Linked DNA regions of Homo sapiens: regions 2, 3 and 4 are each linked to region 1. Evidence: promoter capture Hi-C in 16 types of primary human blood cells and fetal thymus (Javierre and others, 2016). All regions are on one chromosome and are shown on one strand. Each heading gives the region's core, a stretch centred on a gene start or on the middle of the fragment in contact. The rest is flanking DNA. Distances are from core to core; before and after follow the strand shown.

Region 1 (5,923 bases), core at 1,209-3,708:
TCAAAGTAGCTGGGACTACAAGAGCACATCACTACACCCGGCTAATTTTTTTTTTTTTGTATTTATAGGAGAAAGGAGGTTTTGCTATTGATATGGTTTGGCTGTGTACCCACCCAAATCTCATCTTTAATTGTAGCTCCCACAATTCCCACGTGTTGTGGAAGGGACCTAGTGGAAGGTGATCGAATCATGGGGGCAGGTCTTTCCTGTGCTGTTCTCCTGATAGTGAATAAGTCTCATGAGATCTGATGGTTTTATAAAGGGGAGTTTTCCTGGACATGTTCTCTTGCCTGCCACCACTTTGCTCCTCCTTGCCTTCTTCCATGATTAAGGCCTCCCAAGCCATGTGGAACTGTGAGTCAATTAAACCTCTTTCCTTTATAAATTACACAATCTCAAGTATGTCGTTATTAGCAGCATGAGAACAGACTAACACAGCCATGTTGCCAGGCTCGTCTTGAACTCCTGGACCCAAGCAATCTGCCAGCCTTGGCCTCCCAAAGTGGTGGGATTTCAGGCAGGAGGCACTGTGCCTGGCCTACTTGAGTTTTAACAGTGAAAATATAGATACTTGCTTGCCCTTGTGGACTGTTCATTCTAGTGAAAGGGAACAGACAGTAAATTAGAGACATGTCAGATGGTAAGGGCAATGGAGAAAATAAAGCAAGTTAAGGGCATAGGGATTAGGGTGGGGGAAGCTCTTTCATATGATGTGGTCCTGGAGAGCCTCAATGATAAAGTTAAATTTTATCAAAGATTCAAAGGAAATAGGAGGGAGAAAGTCATATGAGCATACAGGGAAGATCTGTTCAGTAAGAAAGACTTGCATTTAATAAGAGTAAGGTTGGTGAACGTTTTGCAAGTGGATGGACTTTTCTGCGATTTTGCAGTTTGTTTTTTATTATTTGCATAATTCTCTTTACAAAAACTGTGATCCTAACTGGATAACATAAGCTTATTATCAAATATAGTACAAAGTTCAAATATTCTACAAAATATCATTCATCTCTTTTACTAAAGGAAAAGCTATGCGTCCTCACACAGCAGGTTATAGAATTTGCTGATGTTAAGAAGAATTAGCTGAAGTATATAATGTCTTACCTCTCCTGTAAAATACCTCCTTTGTTTCAGAGTCAGCTATGAAATTCTAATAATAGTCTCAAACTTTTCACTTGGATTATTTGAGTAAATGTAAAATGCCCAGCACTGTACATAATTACTTCTTTGTTAAGATGTCAACCTTTGTTTTTTAGTTAAGAGTTAATGAACCTTGATAATTGGCAAACAATCTTTGAGCCGAAAGTAGGATGGACACCATCAGTACTCTTAACCCAAAACAATGAAACTATTGTTGGCATTAGGATTACATTGCTTTCTGTTCAGATAATTTTTTTCTGAAAAAATGCATGTATACTTTGTTATTCAATGGTGTCAGAAATATTAATAAGTTAGCTATAATTAAGTATTCCTTAAACAGTTTGTTATTCAAACAATAAATGTGAACTTATGTATAAAGTTAGAAGACTAAAAATGGCATAGAACGCACTAATACTCTCATGCTAAAGGTTTTAAAAAAATTAATAGTATTTCTGCCCTTGAAAAACATGAGTTGTATATGTAATGTAAAATCTTTTTCTGTGGCCAGTAAAAATTTCCAACAGGAAAGCTTGGGGTGAGTATGTCTAAAATTCACTCATCTGAGGAGAATGTAATTTAAGATTGGGCACTTTTATTATAGAAAGTAGAAATTTGAGTTATCTTACTTTTTAACTTAAAGAATCATCTTGAGAGATCAATGGTGTCCACTGGAAGGCAAGAACTTGGTTCTGGCAGGAAAACCACCACTGGCTGGTAGTATTTGCAGAGCACTTAACCTCTGTGCCTAGGTTCTTGTAGCTGTCAAGTAGATAATAGTAATTGCTACCTTCCGTGGGAAGTGAGCTTGTGCTTTGACATCTTTAGTTGAAGATGCTGTATAAACACAAATTATTATTATTAGAATATAATACATATATGCACATAAAACACCAGCATGGTGCTCTTTTAATGCTTATATAACATCTATAAATAATGCTCTTCCATGCTCTCTCTTCACTTTAGGTCAGAGAATATCATAGCAGACCACTATTCAATTTCTGTAAGTATGGAGGAAATATATTTGTTAAAGCTCCATGTCATCTTTTTGAGACGAACTTAACCTGCTAATTCCTTATGGTCTCTGTAGCAATTGCCCGATGGCCCCTACCCAAGTTAAGCCTTTGGTATTTTTTGAAATGTTGGCTAAATTACTTTTCTTGGAGATGTGGAGCCATCAGGGAAAACCTGGAAGAATGAAATTGGCTAGTGATATTAAAATTTTGGTTGTTTAACATTTAACTGAGTCTCAACAACGTGTTAAAGTGCTATCTAAACAGATAATTAGCTAGTGGCTGCGCAGTGAGCTGTCTAAATTTAGCAGTGAAATTAGGTTTAGGGAATGCGAATATAGAAAAAGAAATTTTCTCAAGGGAAACGGTGGTGTCAGCACAGCTGAGGAATGTCACAATAGCTACATTTTGTCAATTATGATCATCATCAGGGGATCTCCCGGAGCGATGCAGGACAAGGTTTATTCATAAGTGCATCTTGAGAATAGGTGATAGAAAGCCTTGGCTGCAGGAGACAAGCTTACAGGGGACGACAGAGGCAGACAGGCACAGGGAGGGAGGGAAGAGGAAAGGGCTGGAGGGAAAAAGGCACTAGACCGAGCGCTGGGAGACTGGAAGGGAGGCAGAAGTTAAGAAAGAAAAAAGAGGTGGGCAGGGTGTAGAATGGCTTGTAGCCTTGGAGGTTAGTAAAGCCTTGTAATCCAGCGGGCGGAAGGTGGGAAGACCCTATTGACTGAAAGCCGAGGACAGCGTGGTCTTGGCCGCAAGCATGCATTAGTTTAGCTGCGACAGGCTAACTTCTGGGCGGCTGATCCTTGTTCAGCTTTCCTGTTACTGGAACACATTTATGGCTATCTCGTGGAGATGACAGGACCTACATAAAATTAATAGTGTCAGGCCTGAGGACTGGTGTCCTCTGCCTTCAATTCACCCCCTACGCTGGACAGTCCAAATTGTCCACCCTCCTACTCCCCCCGCGGAACCAATGTGGCAGTGGCTCCAAGGTCAAGCTGCCGGTACTGTGCGAGGCGGGAGGATGGAGAGGGCAGGGCGGAGAGCCACCTGGGATGAGCGAGGGTCATGGTGGACCACAGACGCTCTTCTTATACGGGCAAATGTTTAATACTTCCCGAGGTCGCCTCTCTGCCATCAAACGAAAACAGGCAAGAAAATAAAACTACACATACGAACATGCAAAGGAAACAAAACCAAAGAAAAACACCAACGCACTCGTTGGGGGAAATCCATGGCCTCCTGTTGCCAGTCGCCCGGCGCGGAAAGTGGACAGCCCAGCGGCCAGTGAGAAGCAAGAGCAAGAAAGCAAACCTTCTGAAGACCCCTCTCCTCGCCCAGCTCCGCCGACCATTCTACCAAGCTGCCCTCCCAGAAAAAAGAGCAGGAAAAATGCCTGTGCAAACGTGCCTTGGCGAGCGGGGAATAAGTGGGCTGGGAAGAAGGGAAGGATTCGGAGAGCACAGCTGTCCCGGGGAACAGGAAGGAGGAGAAAGTCTCTCCCTCCCTTCAGTGCCCCGCGCCCCAGCGAGGAGGAAGATTACTAGTCCAGCAGGCTGCGTCCAGCTTCCTACACAGGAACCTTTAGCATGGGCAACGGAAGGGCAGCCCCCTCCTGCCTTCCCCTCCCCACCCCACCCCCTCGTCCCAGGTCCCCGCCACAGGGAGAGCGCCGCCCGGGAGAGGAGAAGGCCGAGCGTGATTGTCCCGCAGCCCTCGCCTCAGTCGGCGCCGGGGCCCCCGTGGACCCGCGAGGGGTGGAGTGGGCGAGACCATTGGAAAGGCAGGGAAGGGGGGAAACCAGGCAGGAACGAGGGGCGGGGCCGACTAACCTATTCCAGATTTTCCTGTCCCTTTTAAATCTCTGCTGTGGGAGAAACCCCGTTATCAAAGTGGATGAAAAGAATATTTTTTTTTGAAAGGGGAGGAGCATGTGTAGGAGGGCGGGGTGGGAGGAGACAGGGCTTGCGCCCGGGGATCAGACGGGAGGTGGAGTTGCGCGGGGAGGGCGGGCGAGTCGGGCGCCCGCTCTGAGAGTCGGTTTCTTTTCCCCCTCTTGCGTGGGGCGGGGTGGTGCGTTCCGAGTTCCCAGGAGTTCGACGCGGGCGGGTGCCGAGGGGAGGGGAGTGGCGGCGGCGGCGGGCGGCTCCCGCTTCAGCCTCGGCAGTGGCGTCGGCGACGGCGGTGTCGAGGCAGCCGCCAGCGTTCGGCCAAGTGTCAGCCGGCAGCGACGGCGCTAGAGCTGGGAGCTGGGGACGCGCGCGCCGGACCTTCCACAGCCTCCGCCCAGAGCCTGAGGCGCCGGGGCCGGGGGAGCCGGGGGGCGGGCGGGCGAGCGGGCCGGGGGGAGGGTGGGGGATGGCGCGGACCCTGCGGCCGTCCCCGCTGTGTCCTGGAGGCGGCAAAGCACAACTTTCCTCCGCTTCTCTCCTCGGAGCCGGGCTCCTGCTGCAGCCCCCGACGCCACCTCCGCTGCTGCTGCTGCTCTTCCCGCTGCTGCTCTTCTCCAGGCTCTGTGGTAGGTGAACCTCGGCGGCCGGCGTGGGCTGAGGGAGCCGCCACTGAGGGTGCGGGCGCCGCGGCCGGCTCTGCCAGCCGTTCTCTGGAGCAGCGAGGCGGTTGGTTGTGCGAGCGAGTGCCGAGGACTTTGGCTGGAAACTTTTCGCCGCGCCCGGGGCGAGGCCCTGGAAGGGCCAGGCCAGCGAATGCTGAGCCGGCGGCCCGCTGCCCTCCCCCGCGGCCGCGCGGGTCGCCGTGCGGATGGCCGAGGGTTGGCGATGGTGCTTCGTGCGCCGAACTCCGGGTTTGCTCCGGGGACCGTTACTTCCTCGCTCATTCTCTGGGAACCCTCGTAGGTTAAGGTGCCGGGATGCACGTTTGCCGCTTTTTTTCCCGGTGAAACTTGAGCTGTGAGCCCAGAAACCCTAGGGACCGGAGCCCGATGGAATGAAGCCTCCGGGTCCACTTCTCATGGCCTTCCACCCTGGAGAAGGCACCATTTTAGCCCACCCAGCCGCAGAATCCCCTACAGCTAGTTTTCTTCTGTCTTGTGCCCACTCCCCCGGCTCTGCCCTGACAGCTTCTGGAGCTCTCTAGATTGACCCTCGTCCCTGCCCTCCAGCTTGTGGGACGTCTCTCACACTGCCCGTGCTTATTTTACCAAACCGCAGGAACAAGATTTACGTGTTAAATACCTGATTTCATGGACTGTGTGCCCCGGCTGTTCTAACCAAAACAGTCACGCGCCTGTTTCCCATCTCTTGACCCTCGTGTTATGTTACTGTTTTCCTGTCATATTTGGGAGTTAGTCTCTGAGTTTTCTTCCCAGGTATGCCAGACTAGAAGCCTGCTTATTAAGGACTGTGCTAAAAAAAAAAAAAAAAAAAAAGTCTGCCTCATGCAAGAGAAATGGACTTAAGTGGTAATTAATGGGAGGCAGCGATTTGGGAAAATAAGGACACCAGTCTTTGGTGGGAGGAGGAGTATCAGAACACTGCGAGTAGTTATTTATTTGAGGGCTCTTGGTAAGAAAAGTAGAGGGGCAGAACTTAAGCTTGGTCAAAGATTGGTTTTCAGTATTTCATAAAACCGTAAACTGAAGTTTTACTAGTATTTATTAAAAGGAGAGATGTGTGCACATTTCTTGAATAGTGTGATTTAGAAGGAGGAGAATCCTGTTACATGGTAGGTGAGTCAGGGTAGTTGGTTATGAGGGAAGCAAAGTTTGCATGATGGGATTGAGTGTCTCTTCTGGGCTGAGAATT
Region 2 (5,923 bases), core at 2,554-5,053, 1.7 Mb before region 1:
TTCCATGAAGTGCAGGATTTGCACAATACATGATGGAAATTTCTTCCCTGGTTTTTCTTCTTCAGAAAAATTCCTCTGGCTTCTAAGACCCGAGAAGGTGGGATTTGAGAATTTGAAGACCTCTTACCTTTACTGCCTTTGATAGACATTTTTTCTTTGGTTCTCTTTGCTGATGTTCCTGGCAAAGCAATTGAATTTGGTTGATTAGAAGCCTGCTGATCCTCTTCCCTCGACTTCTCTGTGGAGGTCCACTGGGGAACAGAGGAGCTGGTCAGTCATTCCTCTAGTGTCCAAACCACACATACACTACCTGCCTCAAGATAACTCACTTCTAAGGCACCAACGCAGTTACTGGACTCCACTGGCAGTGTGGATTCTCCTCTGGGTATCATCTTAATACTCAGTTTCATTTACAAGACTGGGAAACAATGATGGAAAAAAAGGGAGGAAGCCAGTTTGAAAGCACATGAAAAGACAGATACAAACAAGAGTAGAAGAAAACAGCTCTGCCTTGAGGGGAAAAAGCGCTTAGGTAGGCTCACGCCTGTAGTCTGAGTGCTATAGGAGGCCTAGGCAAGAGGATTGCTTGAGTCCAGTAACTGGATACCAGCCTGAGCAACAACATAGTGAAACCTTGCCTCTACATAAGGAAACAAAATTAGCTGAGCATGGTGGTGTGTGCGTGTAGTCCAGCTACTCGAGACTGAGATAGGAGGATTGCTTGAGCCAGGGAGGTAGGTAGAGGCTGCACCACTGCACTCCAGCCTGGGTGACAGAATGAGACTGTCTCAAAAAAAAAAAAGAGGCCCTTAACTCACTTACTATATTCCATCATCTCTCACCTGGCAGAATTTTTTCCCCCAGTCCTTCATTCTTGACGCCTTCCAAATAATTTTCTAACACTGTTGGCAGAGTGACACTATGAAAAGTTTCAGTGGTTTATTGCTCTTAACATAAAAGTAATTGTCTTTAACATTACCTACCAGCCTCTTATCTCCTATTTCACACTGCTCTCCCTGACCAAGCTCCAGCCACATAATTCCTTTCCTTTCCAAAGTTGTTACATTCCTCAGCCCCAACCTCCACCCTACTTCTATTTACACTTTAAAATCTTACACCTTAAAAATCTTACTCTTCTTTTAAAAGTCTCACCTCAAGTGCTATTTAACCTGGTCCTTCCAGACCAATCTACTAAATACTACCTCATTTCTACCACTTGTTAATTGCAATTACATTGGTTTGTGTGATTTCTTTTTCATCATAGGCACTCAATAAATATTGGTTCATTGAATTAAAGGAAGCAAAGTGGGAGTGGGGAAAAGTTGTTTAATCCAGAGACAGTAACATATATTGAGCCTCTGTCTCATACTAGGCATTGGCTTTGATATGCTCCTCACTTTCATTTTTTTAAAAAATATTTATTTATTAAAGAAAAGGTCTTGCCCTGTCACACAGGCTGGAGTGCAGTGACAGGACCATAGCTCACTCCAAGCTCTACCTCCCGGGTTCAAGTGATCTTTTGCCTCAGCCTCCTGAGCAGGTGGGACTACAGGATAATTTTTTGTAGAGGTGAGGTCTCCCTATGTCTCCCCCCACTGATCTCAATCTTCTAGCCTCAAGCAATCTTCCCGCCTTGGCTCCCCAAAGAGTTGGGATTAAAGGCGCGAGCCACTGCGCCCAAGGGTTCCCTATTTTCTTTTTCTCTGAGAGGAGTCTCGCTCTGTCACCCCGGCTGTAGTGCAGTGGTCCAATCTCGGCTCACTGCAACTTCCATCTCCCCGGTTTAAGCAATTCTCTGCCTCAGCCTCCCCACTAGCTGGAATTACAGGCGCCTGCCACCACACCCGGCTGAATTTTTCTATTTTTAGTAGAGATGGGGGTTTCACCATGTTGGCCAGGCTGGTCTCAAACTCCTGGCCTCAAGTGATCCGCCCACCTCAGCCTCCCAAAGTGCTGGGATTACAGGCGTGTGCCACTGTGCCTGGCCTTGGCCTTCCTTTTTTCATTCATTTAATTCTCATAGCAATCTGGCAACAATTACTTCTCAGACACAGAAGCTGAGAATCAGAGGTAACATAAAGACACAGATTAGGGGTACATTAGATATAAATTAAAATTTAAATATAAAGGCTAGGCTCCGTGGCTCACGCCTGTAATCCCGGCACTTTGGGAGGCCGAGGTGGGCTGACCGATTGAGGTCAGGAGTTCGAGACCAGCCTGGCTAACATATCGAAACTCAGTCACTACCAAAAATACAAAAACTACCTGGGCGTGGTGGTGCGTGCCTGCAATCCCAGCTAATCGAGAGGCTGAGTCAGGAGAATCGCTTGAACCCGGGAAGCAGAGGCTGCAGTGAGCCGAGATCGGCTACTGCACACCACTCTGGGCGACAGAGTCAAACTCATTAAAAAAAAAAAATTAATATAATAAAATTTCTCCTAAATCTAAATCCTTTTCTTCACTTTCAGGGTGGATTACTGGACAAATTAACATTTGTATGGCATTTTTACATCTCTATAGCAGTTCTACATTTTGATTTGAAATTTATATTTGCATAAACCTTACAAAAAGTACTCACTTTGGACCTCACAAAAGACTTAAAACCGAGACAGTTAAAAATGACCCAGTTCAAGTCAAGAGGACCTGAGAGCGCTCGGATATGGCCGTTCAGTGCCTGTGCAACGTCTTAAATCCTCTCTTCCTTCAGTTTCTGTCTGCATTGTTCCCAATGTCTGGCTTCTGATTACTCCTAGGTCCTAAGGACGCTGGGAAAAGGGGACGAATTCATTCTCAGCACCCTCGGTTTAGGATCTGTGTCCGTCTAAAGGAAATTAAGGGGTTTCATTCTTTTCCAAACTCAGCTCAATTACCTCTTCCTAAAATCTTTCCTTTAACACCCTTTTCTCCTGTTACCATTTCCCTCTAGCCCCCATATTCAGTTAGTTCTTTCTGACAGGACTAAGCACCTCTTCAAAACAGAAAACCCGGGCCGGGAGCAGCGGCGGGCGCCTGCAGTCCCAGTAGCACTTTGGTAAGCCGAGGTGGGAGGATCGTTTGAGCCTGGGCGGTTACAGTGAATAGTGATGGTGCCACTGCACTCCAGCCAGGGAGACAAAAGTGAAACCCTGTTCCAAAACACAAACCTGAAAACCTAATTTTTTAACTTTTTCTTTTGAGGTGGAGTTTCGCTCTGGTTGCCCAAGCTGGGGGTGCAATGGGGCGATCTCGGCTCACCGCAACCCCCGACTCCCGGGTTCAAGCGATTCTCCTGCCTCAGCCTCCCGAGTAGCTGGGATTACAGGTGTGCGCCACCACACCTGGCTAATTTTGTACTTTTAGTAGAGACGGGGTTTCTCCATTTTGGTCAGGCTGGTCTCGAACTCCCGACCTCAGGTGATCCGCCCGCCTCGGCTGCCCAAAGTGCTGGGATTACAGGCGTGAGCCACCGCGCCCGGCCTCTTTTTTTTTTTTCCCCATCTTTTGACACACTCAACCTCCTCAACTAAACCTAGAAAACCTCATTTCTTACTTGTCTGCTCACTCCAATATACCAGGCTGCAATCATATTCTTGGGCCTTACTCTTAAAATAAAAAAAAAAAAAGTCAAGAGGAGAAAATTCGAAGGCACATTCTTTTCTCCTTAAAGGAAAAATCAGGAGTGCCCAGGGAAGACAGAAACACAAAGACAGACAGAAAACAAATCCACTAAAACTGTACTGACCTCCTTGCCTTTTGCCTTCTCCATACTTGTAGAAGAAGCGGAGCCTCGCAACATGCTTCCAAAATGGCCCCTGCCCCAAGATTGCTATTTGCAAAGTCTCCTCCCACTTCCTGCCGCCCGAAGACCCTTTTTCTCTCCACCTCACCTCTTCTTTTCTTCTCCCCTTCTGTTCCCTCCCCCACAATTTGTAAATGCTAAAATTGCATTCTTTCTTATTCATGGGGTGACTTTTGTCTGGGTTGAATTACTAATACTATTCCTGGCCCTTTTCTGTTCACTTTAAATGTAATTATCCAAAGTATGGTTCCGGAGACATTGGGAGATTGAGCACTCCTTCAGAACGATTCTACGGGGAAAAAAAACAAAAAACAAAAAACAAAAAAACAGTGGCCAGAGACTTGAGCAGGATGTGTGAAGGGATTTAATAATGGAACTTGTGGCAACAGTAGACTTCAGAGACCAGACTGGCGGCTTGAAGAAAGCTATTTTCTCGTACCAAATACATTCCATTTCCTAAGTAAGTTACTCAACCAACTAAAACTCCAGGTTTCTCTGTACTAATACCGAGCATCTTTTCATCTGCCAACGAACTAATAATAGTAGCTTTTAAAGTCTATAGAGTATTTGTTATTTATTTTGTAGAGGGCAAGTGGGGGGGTCTGGCTATTTTGACCTGGCTGGTCTCGAACTCCTGCCCTCAAGTAATTCTCCAGCCTTGTCCTCCCAAAGTGTTGGGATTACAGGCGTGAGCCACCACTCCCCGCCCGAGTATTTTTTTATATCTCAAATTGTGAGTTTTAAATTCAGTCATTATTGTTCCCCATTTTATATATGACTAAAGTTGGTATAAATTTTTATTGGTAACTTTTTCAATAGCACAGTAAGTGAACCCCTAACCTACTGACTCCCAAAGAAGTTCAAGTTTTTCTCCTTAAAATAATTTGAAAAATCTTTCCTCAGATCAGTGCTCCCTGTCAGATTGTCAAGAGATGTGAAGTGAAGGAAGCAGTGGCTGTGCGACTGAAACCCTCCCTTGTCAGGGTCCAAAGTCTCTTTTGTTCTTTGGTTTACTTTGTTGTTTTTTTTTCCTACATCTCATTGCTTGTCCTAAAATGATAAATAAGAGACTGTCTTTATCCAAATGGTGTTAGTAATCTGCTCACAGGCTAGAAATCCACGGACAGAAAAAGTAAGTAAACGGAGCCCAGGAATAGAGAAGGAAGTGCAGGTTGTGGACTGGGCAACCCCCAAGGCGGCAAAGAGGAAACCAGGTGAGTTGAGGTCATCTGGGAGATATTAGGGCTTTGATTTAACAATTCTTTACCACAGCCTTTGGTAACCACCAGTAGGACTTTCTAATTAAGGTTTGTGTATAAAGTGTATAACTGAATCATCTTTCTTTTGTCAGTGTAATTGAACGTAACATTCAGAATAACTGGAGTTCTGGGCTGGGCATGGTGGCTCACGCCTGTAATCTCAGCACTTTGGGGGGCTGAGGTGGGCAGGTCACTTGAGTTCAGGAGTTTTGAGACCAGCCTGGCCAACAATGGCAGAACCCCTTCTCTACTAAAAATGCAAAAATTAGCCGGGCATGGTGCGTGCCTGTAATCCCAGCTACCAAGGAGGTTGAGGCAGGAGAATTGCTTGAGCTGGAGAGGCAGAGGTTGCAGTGAGTCAAGATCGTGCCATTGCACTCCAGCCTGGGTGACAGTGTGAGACTCCATCTCAAAATAAAACATAAAATAAAAATAAAACATAAAAACACAGACACCAAATCCAGGCCAGATTGATTCATTTTTAAATGTAAGGCTTTAGCAGCTAGCCAGACAGGATTTAAACCCAACCTCCCCTTCACTAGCTGTGTGACCTGGGCAATAACGTTAGGTCTCTTTGTTTTCTCATCCATGAAATGAGAGTCATGAAAATAATAGCCTTTACTTAGAGGGTTGTGGGCATGTCTGGAGAAAACAGTGTCTGGAGAAAACAGTGGCTGGCACAGCACATGTTGGGATCAGAAGAGCAGGGCGTGGTGGCTCATGCCAGTAATCCCAGCACTTTGGGAGGCAGGAGAATCGCTTGAGCTCATGAGTTCAAGACCAGCCTGGGCAATATAGTGAAACCCCATTTCTACCAAAAATACAAAAAATTACCAGGCGTGGTGGCGCAGGGGTGCCAGCTACTCGAGAGGCTGAGGTGGGAGGA
Region 3 (5,923 bases), core at 2,522-5,021, 1.3 Mb before region 1:
GCAAAATGGAGCAAGAGATTGTAGAATACTTACACTTCCATGCTCTGTTAATCTGGACTCTTGTGTTCTCAGGACTCAAAGATACAATGGAAAAAGCTTTAGATTGAGAATAAAAGGACCATGATTCTATTCCTGAAGTTTCTACTAACTTATCTTCTGACCTGTACAATCAGAAAGTCAGTTATTCATCTGTGAAGTGAGAGGGTTGAACTAGAGCATCAGTGTTCAAACTCTGCTCCTGGAAAGCTTGGGATTTTGCAGAGGTATGGCAGGGTCTGCTTTTCAGATAAGGGAGTGCCAGGGATGAAGAGTTCCTTCTTGACATTGGGAAGTGTTCCTTCTTTTTGCCTTCTGTCATGTTTTATCTTATTGAATGGGTTCAAAATAGATCTTGAAGAGGCAGTGTTTAAATCTGAAGCCACCTCCTTTATTACAATCCCTTCTAGCAGTCTGGCCTTTCTTTCCGGTGTCTATTAATTAATCTGATAATTTTATCACCTACCAGCAAGAGCTAAGGGTGGCTTCAGAATAGCATGCTTTTTCATGGACCTTTGGAAAGACTGTTCTTGCTTTCTTGTTCAAACTTTCTGACTCTAATGATAAAACCTGAAGCTAAATGGAATAGGGAGGTATTTTTATAGCAACCAAGAAGGGTCTTTCAAATTATAGCACATAAATGGTGTATTCTGTTCTCACACTGCTAATAAAGACATACCTGAGACTGAGTAATTTATAAAGGAAAGAGATTTAATGGACTCACAGTTCCTCATGGCTGGGGAGACCTCACAATCATGGCAGAAAGCAAGGAGGAGCAAGTCACATCTTACATGATGGCTGCAAGGAAAGAGAGAGAATGAGAACTAAGCGAAAAGGGTTTCCTCTTATAAAACCATCAGATCTCATGAGACTTATTCATTACTATGAGAACAGTATGGGGGAAACTGCTCCCATGATTCAATTATCTCCCATCGAGTCCCTCCCACAATATATGAGAATTATGGGAGCTACAATTCACGATGAGATTTGGGTGGGGACATAGCCAAACCATATCAAATGGCTACCCATTCGATCTGTACATGTTCCAAATGTGTGGTCATAAACACATGCATGTGCACACATGCATGCAAACAATGCAGCTAAGTATTTTGCTCTTTACTCATTATAAGGAACACATATATACACAAATGCACACTTCTTTTCCTACTAGCTCATGGTGATCCCATCCGCCTTTATCCATGATACTCATCAGCAGACCCACCCTAGTTAGGTTCATGTATAAAGCACTTGGGTTACTACCTTACACTGTAATACAAAAGGAAAAACAGTTATATAAGAGGTATTTATTAAGAAGATGAGACAGAATTCCCTATTCTGAATCTATCAATCACAGCCACTTTAATAACTTAATATGCATCTCAGGGTAGTAAAATTTGTTTTATTATTATTTTTTATTTGTATAGATTTAGAGGTACAGGTGAAGTTGTGTTGCATGGATAAATTGTGTAGTTGTGAAGTCTGGGCCTTTAGCATACCCATCACCCAAATAGTGTACATTGTACCAAATAGGTAGTATTTCATCTCTCACTCCCCTCCCACCTGTCCACCTATTGGAGTCTCTAATGATTATTATTCTAATTTGTATGTCCATGTGTACCCATTATTTAGCACCCACTTATAAGTGAGAACGTGTGGCTTCTGACTTTCTTCTTCTGAGTCATTAGGCTAGCGGCCTCTAGTTCCATCCACGTTGCTGCAGAAGACATAATTTCATTCTTTTTTATGGCCAAGTAATATTCCATGGCATCTATATACCACATTTTAAATCCAATCATTTGTTGGTGGACACTTAGGTTGATTCCAGACTTTGCCATTGTGAACAGTGCTTTGGTAAACGTATGACTGCAAGTGTCTTTTTGATAGAATAATTTATTTTCCTTTGGGTAGATACCCAGCAGTGGGATTGCTGGATTAAATAGTAATTCTATTTTTAGCTGTTTGAGAAATCTCCAAACTGCTTTCCAAAGAGATTGAACTTATTTTCATTCCCACCAACAGTGTAGACGTGTTCTCTTTTCTCCATATCCACTCCAACATCTGTTGTTTTTTGACTTTTTACTAACAACCATTCTGACTGGTGTGAGATCATATCTCACTGCAGTTTTAGTTTGCATTTCTTTGATGACTGGTGATGTTGAGCATTTTTTTCACATTTGTTGGCTGCTTATATATCTTCCTTAAAAAAGTTCTGTTCATATCCTTTCCTCACTTTTTAATAGGGTTATTTGTTTTTGCTTGTTGAGTTATTTGAATTTCTTATAGATTATGAATATCAGCCCTTTGATTGATAAACTGTTTGCATTTTTTCCATTCTGTAGGTTATCTGTTTAATCTGTTGATTATTTCTTTTGCTGTTCAGAAGGCTTTTAGTTTAAGTTACATTTGTCTATTTTCATTTTTGTTATGTTTCCTTTTAAGGACTTAGTAACAAGTTCTTTGCCTAGACCAATGCACAGAAAATTTTTCTTTGGTTTTCTTCTAAGATTTTTTATAGATTCAGGTCTTACATTTATGTCTTTAATCCATCTTGAGTTAATTTGTGTATATGGTGAGACAAAGGGGTCCAGTATTACTCTTCTGCATATGGTTCTCCATTTGTTCGTGTCATCTGTGACTTCTTTCATCAGTGTTCTGGAGTTCTCCATGTAGAGGTCTTTCACCTTCAGGAGATATAATTTGAAGGGCAACCAGAATTCTCTTTAGCCCCATCATATATGTAAAATATCCTACTACTAGATATAATTTTAGGTTTATCTTTTTAGAGGATACATATCTTGGGGGATTTTAATACACTAAGACTGGTTACCTTTCAGTTACATCTTAGCTGAATGGAATTAAGATAATTTCTTTCTACTGAATAAACTGTTTAAGGTAACAAGGACTTCATGCCACACGACTTATATCTCCTATGTAAAGTCCCACCAAGAAATTTGTTCAGATGTTTCAAGAATCAGTGTCTGGAAACACTTGCTTCCCTTAGATACACTGTTTTGCCTCTTTATAGGAAAAGTGAAATGTGTAAATGATTAGTTTAGTAGCAATAAGGACTTTTCTCTGTTTTCACTTTCCCATAAGCTTTGACCTTCTATGTATATATAAGTGAAGTATTAAACTCCCCTTATTCATTTCTAGGTTCATTATCCTATAGTACATGGAATCCAAGGAAGAATTGATCTCCTTATCCCTGTGAATCATCCAGATGTTAACTGCTTCTCAGCATCATGTCCTCCTCGAGATCAATTTGGGAAACTCCTCCCATGGCAAAGACAGCTAGTTGTCTATAATTTGTTTCCTCCTTTTCCTTAGCCCCAGACCCTTGATTTTTAGCTAGGTAAATGTCTATCTATAATAAAGACCCCATTTTCCAGACTTCCTTGCTGCAGGTGTACACATGTGACTAAATCCTAGATGATGAGATGTAAGCTGAAATTGTGTGTGCAACTTCTAAGAAATGTTTCTAAAAACAGCAGCCACACTTTTCTTTGTGGTTGTCTTCTTCCTATTAGAATACAGATGAAATGTCAAGGATTCTAGCAGCCAGCTTCAACAATAAGATGACCTTGAGAAGGTAAACTACCTATAGAAAGTGACAAAAAATAGTACTTATCTCAAAGATACATGTAAATAATAATGAGAAAATGCCTAAGATGTATTTAGATAGTGGTTGTCACATAAAAGTTATTCAATAAACATTTATTGATTTTGATTTAGACTGAATTCTGATTTTGAGGTGAGGGCTATGAATTTGTGTGTGTGTGTGTGTGTGTGTTTCAACACTTATCCATTTGACATCAGATGAACTGAGCATCAGGACCTTAATTTGCACTCAAGTTACCAGACCACATCCACTGGACTATGTGAAAGTTAATCCTAGACTCTCCTGGTAGAAGTTTCCAGACATTCTATTCGATGGGCTAGATCAGATTTGGAGAAATCTAGGGGAATGGAGGATAGATCTTAAGGGAGACCAGCCTTTGAGTCTGGGAGAGCTAAGTTAAGTTTTAAATAACAAAGGCCTAAATAATACAGAGCTTAAAGGAGACAAACATTTTTTTCTTTTATTTGAGGGTTAGTGTAGCCACATTTAAGGACCTGATTAGATATTTTGAACAAACTGCTATCCTTCTCCTTAATTTCTGAGACATTGCAATAGGGATGTCTCTCTTGCAATTAAATTCATTTTCTTGGATATGATTATTAATCAATTTTTAAATTTTTTTCTATTTAAAAAATGTACTCTCATAAACTCCTTCAATCATTGGTGAAATAAGGCAGGGGATAACAATACAAATAAAATTAGGTCTGAGAAACTGTAAAATTACTGGGGGCATGGTGAGAGAAAGAAGACTTTTTGGAAGCTTAGTTGATAATATCTGATCAGTGAAACTGAGTGGGGTTCCCTGAGGGCAGCATGAAGATACTGGCCTAGTTGTCAGGAGACTCCAGACATGGAAGGTCCCTAGCCCAAGGGAAGGCCCTTGGGCTAGTTCTGCCAGTCTCACTATTGCCTCTCTCAATTGGGCTGTCAGATTTTTCTTTTTTTTTTCTGTATTAATGAGAATTATCATAATACAATACCTGTGACAGATCTTTAATATTTACTGAGTGCCAGCGTGGTACAGATGTGCAGAGATGTTTAAAAGGAAAGAACAGGTTTTCCCAGTTTCCTATTGTGAAGGTCATTTCACTTGTTTAGACTTAAAGAAAAATAATGGTGTATATTTTAACAAGCTTTCTCTTCAAAATGAATGTACAATGTGGGAATTTTAGTGAGCACTTAAGGACAGACAAAAATGATAATCACAGGAGGAGAAAGCATAAAAATGAAGCAGGTTCATCAGGTAATAGAAATCATTGTGTTTACTTACTTCTTTCTGAAGTCTAGACAGGTCAATCTATTCTGTGCTCTGCAAAGTATTGAGAATCTGTGATTCTCAATTTTATTCTCTGTAAAATAAAATGAAAACTAAGGATAACCTGAAAGTGAAAAGAATTTGTGGGTAGGGTATAGGAAGAATCTGCAATCCCCAAATGTTGTGCCTTAGTGAAAGGTGCCTAGGTTAATTCCATGCTGCATACACATTCAAAAAAAACTATATATATATATATATATATATATATATATATATATATATATATATATATATATATATCTCCATTGGCCTCCTTTGTACTAGGTGAGGGTATCAGAAGTCAACTTAGGCTAGATTAAGAAAAACAAAAGGGAGAGTTATTGTAAGAAAGTAGGAATATTGCATGGAAATTAAGGACAGGAATGAAGCTGGGCTTCAGGAAATCACAGCTCACAGCTAACACATTCCTATGTTGTAGTTCCATGCACTTGTGGATGGCTGCCTCATTGGCCAAAGTACAAATCTCAGGAGAGAGAAATTGAGCAGTTTGAATCAATGGCCAGAAGTGAGGGACATTAGGGGATGTAGTAAAATAGGGCTGTGAGAGGCCTGCTTTGTTATATTAATGGGGGACCAGAGAAGGTGAGTTAGCCTGTGGTCTAGGCAGGGACCTCGTAAGGTAAACTACTGTGATAAATTTTTGCTCAGCCCCAAAGAACCTGCTTAACTCCCTGTATGTAATCTGAAACAAAGTAGTAAATAAAAATAGATTTTTCATTTACCTCTTGTGTATTCTTCAAGTAACATCTTGCAAATCCTGCTGCTTTAAGTCAGCATAAAGGAATAGATGCTTCGATTAATTTGGTATATTCGCTTTGGAGAGGAAATTGTGAACTGCCTGATCTTTCTGTATTTTGAGGATTTAACACTAGGTAAATTTAAAGCAAATGAGTAACTGAAGACGGACAATTTATTTTCATCGATGTTTTAAAGCAGTAGGGCCTGTGATGCAT
Region 4 (5,923 bases), core at 2,100-4,599, 1.3 Mb before region 1:
TTCCAATGACATTTTTCATAGAAACAGAAAAAAAACTTAAAATTTGTATGAAGACCTTTAATAGCCAAATCAGTAATGTTGGCAAAAAGAACAAAGCTAGAGTCTCACACTATCTGATATCGGTATATACCACAAAGCTATAGTGACCAAACAATATGGTACTTCCATAAAAACAGACACATAGACCAATGGAACAGAATAGAGAGCCCAGAAATAAATCCACACATTTATGGTCAATTGATTTTTTTACAAAGGTGCCAAAAAGATACAGTGGGGAAACAGAGTTTATTCAATAAATGTTGCTGAGAAAACTGGATGTACACATGCAGAAGAATGAAATTCAACTCCTATCACACACTATGTATTAGTCCATTCTCGCACTGCTAATAAGAAATAGCCATGACTGGGTAATTTATAAAGGAAAGAGGTTTAATTGACTCACAGTTCCACATGGCTGGGGTAGCTTCAGGAAACATACAATCATGGCAGAAGGCAAAGGAGAGGCAGGCACCTTCTTCACAGGATGGCAGGATGGAGTGAATGCAAGCAGGGGAAATGCCAGATGATTATAAAACCATCAAATCCTGTGAAACTCACTCATTATCACAAGACAAGCATAAGGGAAACTGCTCCCATGATCCAGTTACCTCCACCTGGTCCTGCCCTTGACATGTGGGGATTATTAAAATTTAAGGTGAGATTGGGGCAGGGACACAGAGCCAAACCATATAATTCTACCCCTGGCCCTTCCCAAATCTCATGTCCTCACATTTCAAAACACAATCATGCCCTTCCAACAGTCCCCCAAAGTCTTAATTAATTCCAGCATTAACCCAAAAGTCCAAGTCTAAAGTCTCATCTGAGACAAGGGTCAAGTCCCTTCCGTCTCTGAGCCTGTAAAATCAAAATTAAGTTAGTTACTTCCTAGATACAATGGGGGTACTGGCATTGAGTAAATACACCCTTTCTGAATGGGAGAAATTGGCCAAGACAAAAGAGCTACAGGCCCGTTGCAAGTCTAAAATCCAATTGGGCAGTCATTAAACCTTACTTTTGCAAAATGATCTCCTTTGACTCCATGTCTCACATCCAGGTCACACTGATGTAAGAGGTGGGCACCCATGGCCTTGGGCAGCTGCACCTCTGTGGCTTTGCAGGGTAGAGCCCCACTCCCAGCTGGTTTTATGGGCTGGCATTGAGTGTCTGTGCCTTTTCCAGGTGTACAGTGCAAGCTGTCAGTCGATCTATCATTCTTGGGCCTGGAGGACGGTGGCCCTCTTTGCACAGCTCTACTAGGCAGTGCCCCAGTGGGGACTCTGTGTGGGCGCTCTGATCCCATATTTCCCTTCTGCAGTGCCCTAGCAGAGGTTCTTCCTTAGGGCTCCACCCCTGCAGCGAACTTCTGCCTTGACATGCAGGCTTTTCCATACATCTTCTGAAATCTAGGTGGAGGTTCCCAAACCTCAGTTCTTGACTTCTGTGTACCCACAGGCTCAACACCACATGGAAACCACCAAGGCTTGGGACATGCTTCCTCTGAAGCAATGGCCCGAGCTGTACCTTGGCCCCTTTCAGTCATGGCTGGAGCTGAAGCAGCTGGGATGCAGGGAACCATGCTGTAAGGCTGCACATAACAGCGGGGCCTGGGCCCAGTCCATGAAACCATTTTTCCCTCCTAGGCCTCTGGGCCTGTGATGGGAGGGGCTGCTGCAAAGGTCTCTGACATGCCATGCAGACGTTTTCCCCATTATCTTGGTGATTAACATTGGGCTCCTTACTTATGCAAATTTCTGCAGCAGGCTTGAATTTCTTCCCAGAAAATGGGTTTTTCTTTTCTATCACATCCTTAGGCTGCAAATTTCCCAAACTTTTATGCTGTGCTTCCTCTTGAATGCTTTGCTGCTTAGAAATTTCTTCTGCCAGATATGCTAAATCATCTCTCTCAAGTTCGAAGTTCCACAGATCTCTAGAGCAGGGGCAAAATGCTGCCCAGTCTCTTTGCTAAAGTATAGCAAGAGTCACCTTTGCTCCGGTTCCCAAGAAGTTTCTCATCTTCATCTGAGACCACCATAGCCTGGACTTTATTTTCCGTATCACTATCAGCATTTTTGGTCAAAGCCATTCAACAGGTATCTAGGAAGTTCCAAACTTTCCCACATTTTCCTGTCTTCTTCTGAGCCCTCCAAATTGTTCCAACCTCTGCCCATTACCCAGTTCCAAAGTTGCTACCACATTTTTGGTTATCCTTAAAGCAGTGCCTCACTATCTCAGTACCAATTTACTGTATTAGTCCATTCTCACACTGCTATGAAGAAATACCTGAGACTGGGCAATTTATAAAGGAAAAAGTTTAATAGACTCACAGTTCTGCATGGCTGGGGATGCCCCAGGAAATGTACAATCATGGCTGAAGGTAAAGGAGAGGCAGGCACATTCTTAATGGAGGGGGAGGACAGAATGAGTGCAAGCAGGGGAAATTACAGCCCCTTATAAAACCATCAGGTTCTGTGAGACTTACTCATTATCGCAAGAACAGCATGGGGGAAACCACTGCCATGATCCAATTACCTCCACCTGGTCCTACCCTTGACATGTGGGGATTATTACAATTCAAGGTGACATTTGGGTGGGGACACAAAGCCAAACCATATCACACTGTATACAAAAATCAACTCAAAATGGACTAAAAACTTAGATTTAAGGCCTGAAGCTGTAAAACTACTAGAGGAAAACACAGGAAAAAAGCTTCTTATCATTAGCCTGGGCAATAATTTTATTTTCGATATGACTCCAAAAGCACAGGCAAGAAAAACAAAAATGCACAAGTAAAATTGCATCAAATTAAAAACCTCTGCACAGCAAAGAAAACAATCAATAGAGTAAAAAGATAACTTAGGCAATGGGGGAAAATATTTGAAAATTGTACATTTGATAAGGGTTAATATCCCAAATATAAGGAACTCTAACAACCCAATAACAGGAAAACAATGTGATGAAAACACTAGCAAAAGACCTGAATAGACATTTCTCAAAAGAAGATATATAGATAGCCAAAACGTATATAAAAAATGTTCAACATCACTAACAATTAGTAAAATGCAAGTTAAAATCATAATGAGATATCACTTCTTACCTGTTAGAATGGCTATTAGCAAGAAAACAAAAGATTACAAGTATTGAGGCAGATATGAAAGAAAGAGAACCCTTGTACACTGCTGGTAGGAATAGTAGATTAGTACAGTCATAAAAAATAGTATGGAGGTTTCTAAAAAAATAAAAAATAAGACTTAATGTGATCCAGCAACTTCACTTCTGTGTATGTATCCAAAAGTGATGAAATTAGTTCTCAAAGAGATATCTGCCCTCCCATGTTAAGCTGCAGCATTTTTCACAATAGCTAAGATATGGAACCAACTTAAGTGTTCATCAGTGGATGAACGGACAAAGAAAACGTGATGTATATACACAATGGAATACTATTCAGCCTTAAAAAAGAGGGAAATACTGTCATTTGTAACAAACCTGGAGGACATTATGCTAATCAAAACAAGCCAGGCACAAAAAGACAAATACTGCATAATCACATTTATATGTGGAATCTAACAATGTTGAACTATAGTAGCAGAGAGTAGAATGATGGTTAGTAGTGGCTGGGGAAAGGGAAAATGGGATGTTAGTCAAAGAGTGCAAAGTTTCAGACAGACAAGTTAAATAAGTTCTGGAGATCTATTGTACAGCATGGTGACCCTAGCTAATAGTAATAATTTCTTAGAGAGTAGATCTTAAATGTTCTCACCACAAAAAGATAATTATTCAAGGTGATGGATATGTTAATTCATTTGATTCAATCATTTCAAGATGTATAAATATATCAAAACATCACATTGTATGCTGTAAATTATATGACTTACTTGTCAGCTATATCTTAATAAAGCTGAAAAAATAAAACAAACTGAAGCTTAAATAATGAATAGAATTACGCCAGAGGGAAATTACGCCAGTGAGAAGATGAACTGAACAAAAGTGTGAAGAAAGGAAAGATCAACAGAAAAGATAAGTAGATAAGAAGGGGCAGAAAGGAGAAAAATCAATATTTGGAAATGAGATTGAAAGAGTATAAGGCACGCTATTGAAGGGCTCTTAATGCTAAATTTAGGAGTTGAAATATGACTCTTCTCAAGAAAACAAAGAAGGGGAACATCACACTCTGGGGACTGTTGTGGGGTGGGGGTTGGGGGGAGGGATAGCTTTAGGAGATATACCTAATGCTAAATGACGAGTTAATGGGTGCAGCACACCAGCGTGGCACATGTATACATCTGTAACTAACCTGCACATTGTGCACAAGTACCCTAAAACTTAAAGTATAATAATAATAAAATTAAAAAAAAAACAAAGTTTTATGAATGTGAGCCTCTAATTGCTGTTTTAAAGAAAAGCGCTTTCTGAACATGTGAGTTAATGTACATGTTCTTAAGCATGAACATGCACATGTAGACTGCTGCTATGATAACATGACACCAGCAGTTACCACCCATGCTGAAAATACTAGAAAAGCTTTGTTTTATTTATAAAGTGAACTAGAGCCATCTTAAAAGATGAGGATGAATGTTGGCCAAAAGTGTTTTGAGGTAATCTTAGACACATCTCTAATGCCAGTACGACCTACTCAGCAATATGATATAATATAATTTATGTAATAATTACAAAACAATGATGCCCTTTAAACTTTAAAAAGTGCATTTGAATGTAAATATAATTTTAAATATGAACAAACTTGACAGTGGAATTCCAGTTTGTCTGCTTCTTAATGAGTTTTGTAAGCTCTTAAAAAAGAAAATAGTTAACCTAATTAATACCTGGGGATGGGAAAGGGATGGTTCTAAATTGTCCTGCCCATTACATATGTTGCATCTATTTATATATTTACCCAAAAAGACCATCTTCATTTATAATTATTAATATAAGTTGAACTGTGGATATAAGATAGAGAGCTAGTTTTATGTTATTAGAATTCAATACTTAGCTCCTGAATTAACATCCATTATCAAAAATGAAGACTAGACTGGTTCCCTTTCAGAATACATTTATAAAATGTCACTTACAAATAAGTGTTTCAGGTTAATTGAGTGACATGCTGTTGTGTAGGCGTTTGAATGCAAAAGTCTGGCTTTTTCTTTCTGCTATGTTCGGAAAACGCTTTTGTCACTTTTTCACCTCCTCATAGGAAATATGCCTGCTTTGTGGTTTTCAATCACTCACTAATATTTTTATAAGGGATATTAAATGTAAAAGACCATATCCTTAGAGGGACGGTGACTCAAAGAGTCAAGTAAAAATTAGGACTGTTTCTGCCCTTGGGTTTTTTTTTTTTTTTTTACTTCAGGTAAACTATGAAATGTACTTGAACAACTTCAGTGATTACATCTGTGAAAATAGAGATTACAATGGTGCGTTAGTCAATTTGTTTCCCTAATACTTCTTGAAACTTTCCTTTCAATTTTTTAATTCCTTGCACATTCTCTTTTTTCATTTGCTCATCCTTCCAACACCATTTATTATTTGTCATTTTTTTTTGCTCTTTTAAAAGTTCACACTTACGTTTGTGCATGGGTCTCTTCTGATGCCTTTATTCTCTTCCTCTCTCTCAATTCAGGGGTGGGGGTCTGTCTTTGCATTAGACGTCGTTTCTGTCTCTTCTCAAGTCCTGACTCCTCTGCTTGGGGAACTGAGAGGGGATCAGAGACAAAGTGCAGATATCTTTTCCCTCAGTTTCCCATGGCTGTTGGTTTCTGTGTTTCTCTGCCAATATTGAGTGAAGGACGTTGTCTACCCATGTCCTCTTTTCAGTATCTGTGTCAGATTCCCAGCAGAAAAAAAAAAAAAAGAAAAAACAGATTTTGGTAAGGAGCTATAATTTTCT

The links. Contacts are between HindIII fragments. The CHiCAGO score rates a contact against its expected background, and 5 or more counts as called.
Region 2: a contact is called between the fragment with the promoter of DPPA4 here and the fragment with the promoter of NECTIN3-AS1 in region 1, in 6 of 17 cell types (M2 macrophages, M1 macrophages, M0 macrophages and 3 more). The highest score is 9.1, in M2 macrophages.
Region 3: a contact is called between a fragment that was not itself captured here and the fragment with the promoter of NECTIN3-AS1 in region 1, in 1 of 17 cell types (endothelial precursors). The highest score is 6.4, in endothelial precursors.
Region 4: a fragment that was not itself captured here is called in contact with the fragment with the promoter of NECTIN3-AS1 in region 1 in 5 of 17 cell types (endothelial precursors, total CD8 T cells, total CD4 T cells and 2 more); the score reaches 10.3 in endothelial precursors.

Annotation. Positions count from the first base shown.
Region 1 is chr3:111,067,501-111,073,423 of GRCh38, forward strand. It overlaps NECTIN3-AS1 (NECTIN3 antisense RNA 1), which reads right to left and starts at 2,459. Exons shown (of 4, transcript NR_045114.1): 1 at 2,290-2,459; 2 at 1,764-1,971. It overlaps LOC151760 (putative uncharacterized protein LOC151760), which reads right to left and starts at 4,266. Exons shown (of 4, transcript XR_007096272.1): 1 at 3,992-4,266; 2 at 1,764-1,971. It overlaps NECTIN3 (nectin cell adhesion molecule 3), which reads left to right and starts at 4,316. Exons shown (of 6, transcript NM_015480.3): 1 at 4,316-4,677. The coding sequence starts at 4,518. RefSeq lists a silencer at 4,044-4,143. The HindIII fragment of the contact is 1,000 bases long and covers 1,665-2,664 here.
Region 2 is chr3:109,333,743-109,339,665 of GRCh38, forward strand. DPPA4 (developmental pluripotency associated 4) reads right to left here and starts at 3,804. Exons shown (of 7, transcript NM_018189.4): 1 at 3,722-3,804; 2 at 128-251. The coding sequence starts at 3,775. RefSeq lists enhancers at 2,084-2,692, 2,693-3,301, 3,302-3,909, 5,128-5,735. The HindIII fragment of the contact is 8,399 bases long and covers 1-5,923 here.
Region 3 is chr3:109,719,513-109,725,435 of GRCh38, forward strand. The region is part of intron 2 of LOC124906267 (a long non-coding RNA gene); the gene reads left to right. Among named protein-coding and RNA genes, the nearest start is that of MIR4445, 120 kb to the left of the region's middle. The HindIII fragment of the contact is 1,283 bases long and covers 3,131-4,413 here.
Region 4 is chr3:109,736,022-109,741,944 of GRCh38, forward strand. The region is part of intron 2 of LOC124906267 (a long non-coding RNA gene); the gene reads left to right. Among named protein-coding and RNA genes, the nearest start is that of MIR4445, 140 kb to the left of the region's middle. The HindIII fragment of the contact is 1,213 bases long and covers 2,744-3,956 here.